2 separate regions of the Homo sapiens genome follow, and region 2 is linked to region 1. The links are contacts of gene promoters, found by promoter capture Hi-C in human tissues and cell types (Jung and others, 2019). All regions are on one chromosome and are shown on one strand. Each heading gives the region's core, a stretch centred on a gene start or on the middle of the fragment in contact. The rest is flanking DNA. Distances are from core to core; before and after follow the strand shown. Region 1 holds the start of NRN1L (neuritin 1 like). Region 2 overlaps RANBP10 (RAN binding protein 10).

What was found. Contacts are between HindIII fragments. The study calls those that stand out against the background at their distance.
Region 2: a fragment that was not itself captured here is called in contact with the fragment with the promoter of NRN1L in region 1 in 1 of the 25 tissues and cell types used here (IMR-90 fibroblasts).

Annotation. Positions count from the first base shown.
Region 1 is chr16:67,882,042-67,888,772 of GRCh38, reverse strand. It overlaps NRN1L (neuritin 1 like), which reads right to left and starts at 3,888. Exons shown (of 3, transcript NM_198443.2): 1 at 3,791-3,888; 2 at 2,919-3,051; 3 at 2,405-2,799. The coding sequence starts at 3,869. The coding sequence ends at 2,514. It overlaps EDC4 (enhancer of mRNA decapping 4), which reads right to left. Exons shown (of 29, transcript NM_014329.5): 23 at 6,664-6,731; 24 at 6,446-6,561; 25 at 6,179-6,344; 26 at 5,908-6,094; 27 at 5,596-5,815; 28 at 5,042-5,205; 29 at 4,274-4,817. The coding sequence ends at 4,625. RefSeq lists enhancers at 3,294-3,801, 3,802-4,311, 4,617-4,796. The HindIII fragment of the contact is 2,833 bases long and covers 2,833-5,665 here.
Region 2 is chr16:67,729,356-67,736,086 of GRCh38, reverse strand. It overlaps RANBP10 (RAN binding protein 10), which reads left to right. Exons shown (of 14, transcript NM_020850.3): 6 at 1,045-1,229; 7 at 4,503-4,615; 8 at 6,041-6,149; 9 at 6,259-6,407; 10 at 6,603-6,731. Among named protein-coding and RNA genes, the nearest start is that of GFOD2, 13 kb to the right of the region's middle. The HindIII fragment of the contact is 3,468 bases long and covers 2,219-5,686 here.

The DNA.
Region 1 (6,731 bases), core at 2,639-5,138:
AGGGAGGTCCTTAGGTGAAGAGATATATTAATGCAGAGGGGACTGGGCTCAGGACATCCATCCCCCAGGCTCTCTCAGAACAATAAGGTACTCCTTGTCCACGGTGCTGCAAATGTGAGAAACACCATCACCATGATGCTCTGGCCTGGGCAGCTGTGCCCAGGGCCCAGCCAGCTTGGCTATCAGCCCACCCCTCTCCTCCAGCTCTAGGATAAAACACACAAAGCCCTTAAGCCCCTAGCCAGAGAGCAGATTCTTTCCCCCCTCCCCAAGCCCCGCTCTATTCCATGGAAAAGTAGGGACTTAGAGAGCAAAAACCAGGGGAAAAGTAGGCCACAGCAGGAGGATGGTAATCTCCCTGACGGCCAGCCAGAACAGCCAGGCCCCTGCTCCTAGCCATCCAAGACCAGCTCTGGAAGACTTCTGGGGTATACAGCCCCAGCACCATCCTTCCCAGCAGTATGCCCAGAGTAAAGGTGCCACCCCAAGATGACACACCTCCACAGTGGGGTCATTCTCAGTCCAAGCTCTTGCTTACTGTAGCACTACCCATGCTGGACTTAGGAGTTCTATCTTTCATTCCACACCCTCCCACAAGTGCACCCTTTATATCCAGCCCTAGGTTGGATGCTAGAGACACAACGAGGATTCTGACAAAAAGGACTTCCTGCCCTTGGGGAATCCACAGTGGGGAATTCTGACCTGTACCTAGACAATAACAAGCTAGTGCTATCAGTACTGAGGCAGAAGGGAATCCAGGAGCTGTGTGGACCTAGAGGAGCCTTCTGATTCAGCTTGTAGTCAGGGTTAGGGAATAGTTCCTAGAGGAGGTGATACTGCAAGATTGAGCCACTATGCCTGGCTGAGTTTTTCAATTTAGAAAGTAAAGAATAGGCCGGGCGCGGTGGCTCACGCCTGTAATCCCAACACTGGGAGGCCGAGGCGGGTGGATCATGAGGTCAGGAGATCGAGACCATCCTTGCTAACACAGTGAAACCCCGTCTACTAAAAATACAAAAAAAATTAGCCAGGCGTGGTGGCGGGCGCCTGTAGTCCAAGCTACTCGGAAGGCTGAGGCAGGAGAATGGTGTGAACCCGGGAGGCGGAACTTGCAGTGAGCAGAGATCGCGCCATTGCACTCTAGCCTGGGCGACTGAGGGAGACTCTGTCTCAAAAAAAAAAAAAAAAGAAAGTAAAGAATAAGGCCAAACATGGTGGCTCACACCTGCAATCCCAGCACTTTGGAAGGCCGCGGGGGTCAGATCACCTGAGGTTAGGAGTTCGAGACCAGCCTGGCCAACATGGCAAACCCATCTCTACTAAAAATATAAAATTAGTCGGGCATGGTGGCGGGCACCTGTAATCCCAGCTACTAGGGAGGCTGAGGCAGGAGAATTGCTTGAACCCGGGAGGCAGAGGTTGCAGTGAGCCGAGATTGTGCCACTGCATTCCAGCCTGGGTGACAAGAAAAAAAAAAAAAGTAAAGAATAAAGTGGAGGGAGTGATAATAGAAGTCAATGAGGAGACTATGGCAGTGCCTCTGTAAACCGTGGGGTAATGGCTTGGAATAGGATCCTGGCGGTGGTGGGAGAAGGCTGATCAGAAGAGGGTCCTACCCCCAGAAGGCTTTCTCCTTCCTCAGATTCCTCTGCCTAGCTGATTTTGCTCTTCCTTTCCACCGGTATGAAGAGGGGCTCCTCGCACACCACATGCTCTTGTTCCACGGCTTCCAGAAAGCCTTCTGCAATTGTTTTGACTACACACTGCCTACCTCTTCTCAAAGAACAAGCTTGTGGAGAGCAGAGGCCAGAGGAACCCTTATGGTGACTCCAGTTTTTGCCACTTCAGGTCACATCAGGGGCTTGAATGTGGACTTCAACAAAGGCTCCCCACCTTCTAGAACAGGCCTCCCTCAGATAGACCAGAAAACCAGAGGAAGGGACTGAGCACATAGTCTGTGCTATGCCTTGAAGGCTGAGGTGACAGGCAGAGAGAGGAGGAGGTGAAATGGTCAGGAGCCCAGAGGCTGGGGAGGGGGTGGAGCTGAGATCAAGGGCACTTCACCAGCTCACCTGGCCCCCAGGGGCCAGGATAGAAGGGGTAGGCAGTGCTAGGAGTGCAGGGCTGAGACCCCACCCTCCCGATCTCAACCCGCACAGGAAGGTAGAGGAAGACTGTGCATTCTGGCAGATCTCCAGTCTCCACTGGAGGAGCTCTTGGGGCCTGCATGAAATGGAAAGCTTTGCGCTGCCACTGGGAAATGAGTGTTTGTAAGGAGGAAGATTGAGGGCCCCTGTGGTGGCCCTCAGCCCCGCCCATTCCATCCAAGCAAAGGATCAGTTTCTAGGAGTCCCTGGCCCCAGCCGCAAGCAAGGCCACAGCCAGGAGAAAGGAAGGAGCTTACTACAAATATAAATACCTTTAATGAAAAGCCCTGCTGCGCTCTGCAGAGCCTGGACAACCACCGCCAGAGCAGGGCTGGAGGTACGGGCGCTGCTACCCAACCCAACAAGCTAGGCCAGAGGCCTCAGGAGGTAGGCCAGAGCCAGAGCAGCCGCCAGCAGTGGGGGCGCAGGGGCCATGGGGAGTGCAGGCGCTGTAGCCCGCAGCGTCTCCTGGTTGGTTTCGGAGCCTGTGCCGCGCTCCCGAACATGCACCGGGGCACCGCACAGAGTGTGCAAGTTATTCGGACGGGGGGCCTGGCGAGCTTCTTGCTGTAGTGATTCCCACACTGCAGCTGCCTCCTCCGGACAGCCTGACAGGACCTGAGAGGCACAGGCATGGAAGTCATTCCAAGACCTGTTAAGGGAGTGGGATTAGGGGGATTAGGTGAGGCAAGGAGACTTTAGCTTGGGAAATAAAAGGTTCAGTCCCCAATGGTGGCACAGGTTGGGCCACTGCCTCACACCCGCCGGTACCTGCAGATGGTCTCCAGCTCGCCTCCGCGGCCCATGCTGTCCCCCAAGCGGATGAGACACTCGGCGAAGCCCTGGTATATGGTGTCACATCGGTTTGGGCCCGCTGCAGCTGCTGCCAGGGGAGGTAAAAGGACTAGAAGTGGGGCGGGGGTGGGGTGGGGAAGGAATGGTAGATAGGATGAGCCAGGCTCATCCCCCAGCCCCCAGGGGCTTGTTTACCTGGGAGCACTCTGGGGATGTGACTCAGCGGAAAAAGGGTGCCCCAGGGAACTAAAGGGCAAGTCTGGGGATTACCTACCCAGGCCCCCTTCAAGGTAGGACCCAGACTGGGATTTGTACAGGGGAAGGGGGTGTTGTGTACCCCAGGTCAGCTCTTCCTTTGAGCTTCTGGGGCCGCAGGTGGGGTGACAAGGGTCCATGTAAAGGAGTCAGGACAGGGTGGAGGGGAGGGAGGTCCAGAGGCCCCGGACCAGGAGCAGGTGCATCTCTCTGCGGTTTAGACAAGCTTTGCTTGGCCCTCCGAACTCTCTCTAAAGATAAATATTTTTGGAGAGACAAGGCAGGATGCAGAGGTATTGGGATCCAGGCCAGACCCTCAGAGAGGACTTAGGGATCCTACGACTGGTCTATAAGTCCTGCCATTGGCATGTCTCCCTTTATCATAAGAGGGGATGCAAATTTTGGAGTCCTTCTCCCATAACTGGGGCTGTTTGTGCCTCTCACTTTCTGTCCTGAAGTCACCAGCACACCTTCCTGGAGCCCTTACAACTCTTCTCCACCCTGGCACCCAGCGTTCCCACACACCCTATGCCCAGCCTGGCTTGGCTGGGCGAGAAGGGGGTGTGGCCCGGGCCCCGGATGCCCGCACTCACCGAGGGGCAGCAACAGCAACGGCCTCAGGGCATGGGGTGGTTGCCGGCAGCAGCAGCGGCGGCGGCAGCAGCGCATCATCCCTGGCTGAGAGCCTAGTGCAGGAGCTAGCTGCTTGGAGTGCAGCCCGTCCGCCCAGCCCCCGGAGGGAGGGACGGTGATTGGATGGGAGCTGGGGGTGGGGCTCCGAACCCAGCCGGCGGCTCCGCCTCCAACACCCAGATGGGAAAAGGAGCGAGGAGACCTCAGAGAGCAGAAATTCGCAGGAGCACAGGCTGGTGCTGGGCAGGCCCCTGGACCCTCACTCCATAGAAGGAGGGAGAAGGGAGATCTGGGAAGGCAGTTGGAGCAGATGAGTGGGTAACCCGGCCCCTTGGCTGGGTTGGCCTCGACAGAGCTCCACGGGCAAGAGATGGGCAGAGAACGAACAGACGGCAGTTATGAGAGTCACACCAAAGACAAACCAAAAGCACACACATACTCCATTTTATTCCAAAAGCATTTAATTGAATTTCTCAATGTTTTTCAAAAACAAAAAGATCCAAATTAGAGGTAAAAAGGAACATGGAAAATTCCACTCAAGTGGTGTCACGATCTCAGGGTCATGCTCCAGGCATGGCAGAACCCAAGCAGGCGCAATACCTGCCCTGGGCCCAGCTAAACCTTCTGACTACCACACGCTGTAGACCACGGCCAGTGCTCCCTGCTCCCTGACCCCCAAACACCCCAGAGATGGGGGCCTGAGCAGGTAAAGGCCAGCCGTGACCCTGCCCCAGCCTAGGCCTGTCTGCTGGCCTTCAGTGCCATCCCACCCCTGGGCAAGGCAGGCTTAGCAGCTAAGGGAGGCTGGGGGTCACGAGGCCATGCAGCATGAGGCTGAGACGCCGAGCTGCTTTGCCAAGTGAGTTGTGTGGCTCAGCCTGCAGGAACTGAAAAAGCTTTTGGCGCACCTGGGCCATAACGGAGCCCATGTGGTCCCGAGTGATGGGGTCACTGTGGTCCAGGTGCATCACGGCCTCTTCCAGGTAGCTGGGGATGGGGGGGAAAGGACAGGCTACAGGTGGGTGCCAGCAGACGGGAGCGCCCCCTGGTGGCACCGAGGCCCAGAGGGAACCCTCTGGGTGAAGGCAGAAAGGACTGGTGGAGAAAATTAGGGAGAGGATTCAGGCAGAAGTGGGCGTCAGCTTCAAACTGCTCCCTCCCACTGCCCCACTCCCCAGCTCATCTCCCCATCCCTGGCTGTCCCCACTTACCTGAGCTTGAGGTCAGTTCGAGTGCCAAGGTCAGATGCCAGCTGCTGGATGAGGGAAAGGAGCACAGGCTGGGAGAGCGGGCAGGGTGGCTGCCCAAAAACCTGGGCTGGGTCCACAGTTTCACACACATACAGCACCAGGTTCAGGTCAGCAGCTGTCAGCGCCTGGAGGAGAAAAAAGCAGCAGTGTTTATAGCAAATATCAGGATGGAATGTCTGCTTGTCTGAACTGTGTGGCCTGGGGGAGGATGACCACAGGGTGGGCTAGTGAGAGCTCCAGAGGGACTCAGAGAGAGCCTGTAGGGCTGTGTAGTTACCCTAGGGGATTGGGAAATGGGTTCCTGAGAAGGGTAGTTGTAAAGCAAGGTGGGCTAGGTGGGAAGAAAGGGGTCCAGGAAGAGGAAGCAGCAGGGACAATGGCCTGGAGGCCAAAGGGAACCAAGAACAGTCTGCTGGGGCCAGAAGGTGCAAAGGTGGTGGGTGGAGTAGAATGTATGGTATGTGGGCCTTGTCAAGAGACACGTGACCCTTAGCAGGGCCTAATGCCTATCGTACCTGCTGGAAGGCCTGATTGAGGTGGCCCTGCTGCAGCAGCTGCAGGATATGGGCTTGCTGGGCCTGGCAGTCAAGGTGGGCAGAGGGGACAGGTGTGCCAGCAGCTGAGCGCATGGCCTGCATGATGCTGGAGGTGACGGCGGCCTGCTGCTCCTTGAGCGCCACACTCACCTCACCCTTAACGATGCGCTGTACCTGTGCTAAAATGGACTCCTGCAGGCTGCAAAGGGAAGTGAGTGAGGTGAAGTGGACAGGGAGCCTAGTCTGGCCTTTCTCAAGCCCACCACCTTGCCCAGTACTCTGCCCACACACCTGCCCACAGCCACATGCAGCTGGTGCTGCACCTCAGCACGAACACTGCCGGCCACGGTGGCTGCCATCTGCTCAGTGGCACTCTGCAGTGTGCTGACCAGGCCCCGCAGCTGGGCTAGCACAGGCTCCCTGGCCTCCTGTTCCCGTGCCTTCCGGCTCTTCATGTGGCTTTCTAGCTGCTGCAAGTCTGAGGGGTGACCACAGGGACTATAAGAGGAACAGTAGGAAAGAGGATAACCCCTCCCACCTTGGGCCATATGACCCCACTCACATTCCTGTGTCCCCAGCCGGAAGCTATCATTGATTTGCTGGAACATGGCCTGGCAGCTCTTCTCAAAGGCCGGCAGCACCACACTCTGGAAGGCTTCCCGGTAGGCAGCCTGCATCGGCCCTTGTAATGTGTCTGCAGCTGCTCGGGCGATGGCATCAGTCAAGTTCTGGGGTTAGAGGGAGGGGCCAAGTTGAAAGCCTGAGCCCAGCCTGGCCTGACTAGGCCCAGGAACCACCACCTCCACCCACATCTTGGGCCCTATAGCACCTTGGACTTGAGCAGCTTGGAGATGTTCTCTTTCATGCTGCCCTCCACAGCTGTGAGCTTGGTAGCCACTGAGTTGCTCAGTTGGCCTGCCATAGGCTCCAGACTCCTTGAGACACCTGGGAGAGGGGAAGAGGGTGAGGTGGAGCCATGAGAAGAAGCTTGACAGGTACCCCACTCCCACCTGAACCACCCAAAGGGAGTCTGCATGCAAAACTCACATGGAGGGACTGTCTTCTTGATCTCATCCCGTATGCTGCGCTCTAGCCGCCCAGCTACAGCTGACGAC
Region 2 (6,731 bases), core at 2,703-5,202, 150 kb after region 1:
TGACAGTGGGGAGGAGGCTAGCGAGGCTCTGGACAGTTGCAGTGGGGAGCCACAGGAACCACCAAGTGAGGGAGGGACCGAACAAAAGCCAGTCATGGTAGAGGCTAGGTGGAAAGCAGGGAGCCTCACACCCTACTGGCCAGAAGATCCTCTTAGCGAGCCTCTAACAGGAAGGGTAGCTTCTCTTCACCCTTTGCCAGCACCAGGGGTCTAGACCACCGGTTCCCTTTTGCCATGTTCCCCTCCTCCCTCCTTTCCTGCGTCATCCCATCTCTGCCTACCCCCCATGTATCTATCTTTTGGTTTGTTTTTTTTTTTTCTTTCTGAGACAGGGACTCACTCTTGTCACCAAGGCTGGGTTGCAGTGGCAGAATCACAGCTTACTGCAGCCTCAATTTCCTGGACTCAAGCCATCTTCCCACCTCAGCCTCCCGAGTAGCTGGGACCACAGGTGCATACCACCACACCTGGCTAATTTTTATCTTTTTATTTTTTGTAGAGACAGGGTCTCACTTTGTTGCCCAGACTGGTCTTGAAAACCTGGGCTCAAGCGATCCTCCTAAATTGGCCTCCCAAAGTGCTGGGATTACAGGCATGAGCCACTGTGCCCAGCCTCATGTGTCTTATTTTTTTTGAGACAGAGAGATCCTTGGCCCTGGATCTTTCCAAGAGGAGCCATGACCCACTATTGCAGCAGACCTTCATGGGCACGTCTGAAGGGTCGTGGAGCCCAGCCCATTTCTGTATGCTTTGGCTGAGTTCCAGAAAGGGCTCTTGGGCCTTGAGGACACAATGGCCTCTGATACAGGGCAGGACACTCTCCATGATGTGCCTTGCTTGCTTTTCTTTTGCTTTCTCCCCTCAAGCTTTGGGGCATAATGTCTCTGCTAGGGAGGTGGACAGAGGTGGCTCCGCCCTGCCTCCTCCAGCCTTGCTGCAACTCTCCCAGCCCAAGCATGGGCCAGCAGCAGCCATGGAGGTGAGGTGAGGCCTTAGAACCCCACTGCCCTCAGGGCCTGACTGACATTTCATTCTCCTCCTCAGGCCAACCTCTACCCCACCGTAGGCCTGCAGACACCTGGGGAGATTGTGGACGCCAACTTTGGGCAGCAGCCCTTCCTGTTTGACATTGAGGACTACATGCGGGAGTGGCGTGCCAAGGTCCAGGGCACGGTCCACTGCTTCCCCATCAGTGCCCGGCTTGGCGAGTGGCAGGCAGTGCTGCAGAAGTGAGTGCCCTGCTCCTGCCCTTACCCACTCCCACCCCACCCCAGCCCACTTCACTCTAGGCCCCTGTAGGGCTACAAGCTGTTCTTACAAATTCCAGCGGGTGGATCCTTTCTGGGAAGCATTCCCAGGGCCATTCAGCCTGCAGCTCTCCTGCTTCTCTGTCGTCGGATGGACAGCTCCCACCGAGTTCTCCGGGCTGCTCCTAATTAAACCTTTGCCTCTCAGCCATATTGGAGGCTCCTGTATATAAGATCACCAGCAGGGCTGTTTTCCTTCCCCAGGTCATTTTGCAGAGGATTTTGCAGAGGATGCCCTGTGGTCTCTTCCTCTGTGGACCCTTTTTCTACCATAGGGAGTATCCATGGTGCTGTGACTCTGGCCTGAGGCCACCTCACAGGGCCCAGCATCCAACTGAGTCTCATTCGTCTATAGCGGTGGTGGAGGGAAGGGAGTTCTCCCTAGGACCAGCTGAGCTAGCTCCTTGGCTGATTAATTCCCAGACTGTCCTGGAAGCCAGTGTCGCTGAACTCCCAAGGGAGGCCAGCTTTGGGTTTCTCTTCCACTTGCCATCTGCAAGCCTGAGTGAGGCAGTGACCAGTATCCACTCTGCCAGGAGGTGGGTGTTAGCTTGGCTCTCAAGGATGGGCAGATGGGCATGGGGAAGGGCTGGGCTTCCACTGCCTGTGGTCATTGCCCTGCAAAGGCACCAGGGTGCTAGGATTCCTGGGGTGGGGTTGGGGTACACACTGAGTTCTTTGTGCAGCCTTTGTCCCTTGAGGCAGGCCCCAAGGATGGGCTGAGGCAGGGGCTAGGTGGCCAGACCTTCCCCAGGAAAAACAGCATTGCTGCCTCTTGTTCACAGCCCCCCAGAGCAGATGACAAGGACTTCCTTGGATGGCCAGGACAGCGCCACTCCCAGAGCAGGCTTGGTGGGATTGCCAAGAAGAGGGGTGAAGATGCCAAGTCTGTGTAGGGGAGGAACTGATACTCTCAGTTTTCAGGGCCTAGGCTCAGCACATGGATGTGTTTTTGTTTTGGGGTTTTTAAAAAAATACTGAGATGGGGTCGCACTTTGTTGCCCAGGTTGGACTCCTGGGCTCAAGTGATCCTCCCACCTCAGCCTCCTGAGTAGCTGGCATCACAGGCATGTGCTACCATGTCCAGCATAGCACATAGGTGTTTTTGTTTACATGTGTGTATCCATGTGCTTGTATGTGTTCATATGTAGCATTTGCCAAGACCTGCATATAATTTGTGTACTGTGGTTTTACATAACTTCATTTAATGAATATTGATAATGGCTATGTTATCACAGAGACAAATTTGTCACAAGCCTTTTGGCTGGCTTCCTCTAGTGGAAGGTCAGGTAATTCCTTCTCTTTTACTTGTGTAGGTAACCCTCTTGTAGATAAAGACTTTTTCATATTTACCCTTGTGTTTATAATAATAATATGGTGTAATAATAATAATTATACTTACTTTACTTTTTTCTGAGTCAGGAGTTTACTCTATTGCCCAGGCGGAGTGCAGTGACACAGTCATGGCTCACTGCAGCATGGACCTCCTGAGCTCAAGCAATTCTTCTACCTCAGTCTCCTGAGTAGCTGGGACTGTAGGCATGCACCACCACACCTGGCTAATTTTTTGTATTTTTTGTGGGGACAGGGTTTCGCCATGTTGCCCAGGTTGGTCTCAAACTTCTGGGCTCAAGTGATTTTCCTGCCTCGGCCTCCCAAAGTGTTGAGATTACAGGCATGAGCCACCACACGCAGCCAATAATTTTTTTTTTTTTTTTTTTTTTTTGAGATGGAGTCTCGCTTTGTCGCCCAGGCTGTAGTGCAGTGGCGCAATCTCGGCTCACTGCAAGCTCCGCCTCCTGGGTTCAAGCCATTCTCCTGCCTCAGCCTCCTGAGTAGCTGGGACTACAGGTGCCCGCCACTACGCCCGGGCGTAATTTTTTTTTGTATTTTTTTAGTAGAGATGGCATTCCACCGCATTAGCCAGGATGGTCTTGATCTCCTGACCTTGTGATCCGCCCGCCTCAGCCTCCCAAAGTGCTGGGATTACAGGCATGAGCCACCACGCCTGGCCATATTTTTAAAGTAGAGATGAGATCTTGCAATGTTGGCCAGGCTGGTCTTGAACTCCTGGCCTCAAGTGATCCTCCCGCCTTGTCCTCCCAAAGTTCTGGGATGACAGTCATGAGCCATCACGCCCAGCTGATAATTATTATTTATACTATAATATTATGTAATATATCATTTCATAATAAGAAGTCTTATTTATGGACTTCTTCCTGCCAGGTACTTTATGTGTATTATCTCATTTACCCCTTAAAGCTTGAGGGAACACACACCCAAACTTCTGTGCCTTCCACCTGACAACCCTTCAGACATTTGTGTTTAGAGTTACAGTAATGACATCAGACACATGTACACACCAAGGTATTCACTCCTGTACACATCAGATTTGAGGGTTCAGCCTCTGCTTTATATGTGTACACACATGTGCCACTGTTCAGCCAGCTTCTGCTGGGGTTAAATGGCTACAGGGAGTCAGACTTCTCCAGACCATTTCCCAATGACTGTGTTCCCATTGGCCCTGCTGCTGCCTATCTCTGCCTGGCAAAATCAGCCTGATTGCTTGGCTTCTTGGGCCCCTGATTTGTGGTGTATCATGGTGTAACTCTGGGTTGTGAGTTAGCTTCCCATCACTCACTCACTAGAGCTGGAACTGCTGAGGGCAGGTTCACCTGGAGGGCTGAAATGCTTCTCTCAGGTACATGGCACAGCCTGCAGAGGGGCTCCTGTGTCTGTAGAAGGTGTGCATGTGGCATGCATCCTGTCTGGAAATCTGCCAGATTACCTGGCTAGCTGCAGTTTCGGGAAGCTATCAGTGAGACTATTGGCCTCTTAGGCTTGCTGCATTTCCCAAAGAGGCAGCCACCTGTGAGGAGTGTGCCTGTGTGTGTACTTCTGTTATCATACTCGCTTACTTGTGGGCAGCATGTCTCAGATAAACTGCAGCCACTCCTCTGAACTGTGGGCACAGATGTGGTGACCAGCCCCTCCGAAGCCTGACTTCATGACCGTGGGGCACCATGGGGGAAGTTTTCATTTTGTTTCAGCCCCTTTATTCTCATTCTGTGGAGGTTACACCTCCAGGACGTGTTTAGGGAGACCTCTGGGGGAGGTAATCTGTCCTGAGTCCATTGGGTAGTCAGTGAGAAGTGCAGTTCTTGAGTGTCACCTGAAGCTCTTCCTTTCTTCTAGCATGGTTTCATCTTACCTCGTGCATCATGGGTATTGTGCCACAGCCACGGCTTTTGCTCGAATGACTGAAACCCCGATTCAGGAAGAACAGGCGTCCATAAAGAACAGACAAAGTAAGGTTTATTCTACTTTCCCCTTTCCCTTCCTCACCTGTCCCTAACTCTGCTCTCTGGCTCATGTCAACCCTGGTTAACCTGTCAGGAGTCCATTCAGCTCTGGTCCTCATGACCAGCTTGCAGCTCGAGGCCATGTTCCTGTCCCACCTTCAAGATGGCACTGCCCAGATGGACAGTTGGCAGGATGGAGACGTCTCAGGGCAGCCTCCCTAATGCACATTCTGAAGGCTGGGCGCAGGCCAGGCCCTGGCATGGCTGGTTCCATTCCTCCATTTCCTCCCTGCTTGTTTCCTTCCCCCTGAATCCTGGATTCCTCTCAACCTCCTGTTCATGGTCTTCCAGGAAGGCTGTTTGCCTGCCTTAGTAGTTCTGCTTATTCCTAGCCAGAGAGGGGACTGAAGTGGTCAGATAGGGCAAAGCCAGTGCTCAATGGCTGCTGTGGGGGCACTACCCTCTGCTCCCCACCACTGGTCCTGCCCTTTGCAGACAACCTAAAGTCCTCCCTTGGCCAGAGCTCTCCCAGTGTTGATGCTGGCCTGGATGCTGTGTGTCTGGAGGCTCTTTCACGGAAGGAGGGGTGTTGGAAAAGAGGAAAAGGAGCCCAGTGAGGAGCTAGAAGGAGAAAAGGAGAATGAGGGCAAGTGGGTGTGGATATGCGTGTCTGTGAGTGCCTGCCTACCCCTCTCCAAGCCTGCTGTCTCTTCTGTATGTGCACGTGTCTGTCTCCCAGAGAAGCTGTGCTCAGCCAGACAGACGGAAAGGGATCCCAGACTTGGGATCTATGAATGAGAGCCTCAGACTCTGAAGTTGCTCCCAGCGAGATGCACCAGGCCCCACGGCAAGAGCGAAAAGGCAGCAGCAAGATGCTGATGGCGTGAGAGGTGTCAACATCAGAGGTGCCAGCATGAGGAGGATGGCCTCCTCTCCCAGCAGGGGGCATGCTGCAGCCCCTGAAGACCACCAGCCAGAGCCCTGGTCAGAAACCAGTGTGATTCCATTGCCATTCCCCTGTGAGGCCTGGAAGGAGAGGAGTCTGTCTGAAGAGGAGCCACTCAGGCCGCCAAGCTGCCTGGGTGCCCATCCCCAGATCATGTTGCCCCAGCTGGGGCCCTACCCTGCCCCCAGGTCCCTGGCACCATGTGCCCCGCAGGAGCAGACCTCCACATTTACCCTCCTGCCTTTGGGCTGAGAGTCTCCCCTCCATCTTCCCCATATTCTTGAGGACTCTCTGACACTTGGCAGAAACCAGGATCTGTTGGGCTGGGCAGTCAGGTTCTTTCTCCAGCCTCCTCTCCTGTGAGCATTTCAAGCTGGCGAGGCACTCTGAGCCGGACCCTACCCTGAGGCTGGCAGCATCCCAGGTGTGTGGCTGTGGGAGAGGCCTGTAGCCCTCGCTCACTGCTGTGTTCTTGCACCCTGCAGAGATCCAGAAGCTGGTGCTGGAGGGCCGTGTGGGCGAGGCCATCGAGACCACCCAGCGCTTCTACCCAGGGCTGCTGGAGCACAACCCCAACCTCCTCTTCATGCTCAAGTAAGTCTTGGGCACCCCCAGCTCCCCCAGAGTCCAGCCCCTCTCAGCTGGTGGTGGGAACGTCAACCTGGACCACAACCAGAGCATTATTGCTCCGCTCCCTCCACAGGTGCCGGCAGTTTGTGGAGATGGTGAATGGGACGGACAGTGAGGTCCGAAGTTTGAGCTCCCGAAGCCCCAAGTCCCAGGACAGCTACCCTGGCTCCCCCAGCCTCAGTCCCCGACATGGCCCCAGTAGTTCCCACATGCACAACACAGGTCAGCCACTCTCCAGAGGGCTCTGGGAAGAACTGGTGTGGAGGAGAGAGGCCACTCCACATACCCTTTCCTGGGCTGGGCTCAGGGCTCACTGCTGGATTTGGGAGAAGGGAAATGGGACCACTGTGGTTGTTCTTGGGGCTTCATTTCATGGGAAGCTGCCCCTCCTCTTCTGACTGTCACCCTGGCTTCTAGGAGCAGACAGTCCCAGCTGTAGCAATGGCGTCGCGTCCACCAAGAGCAAACAGAACCACAGTAAATACCCTGCACCCAGCTCCTCATCCTCGTCCTCCTCCTCCTCCTCGTCCTCTTCCCCATCCTCCG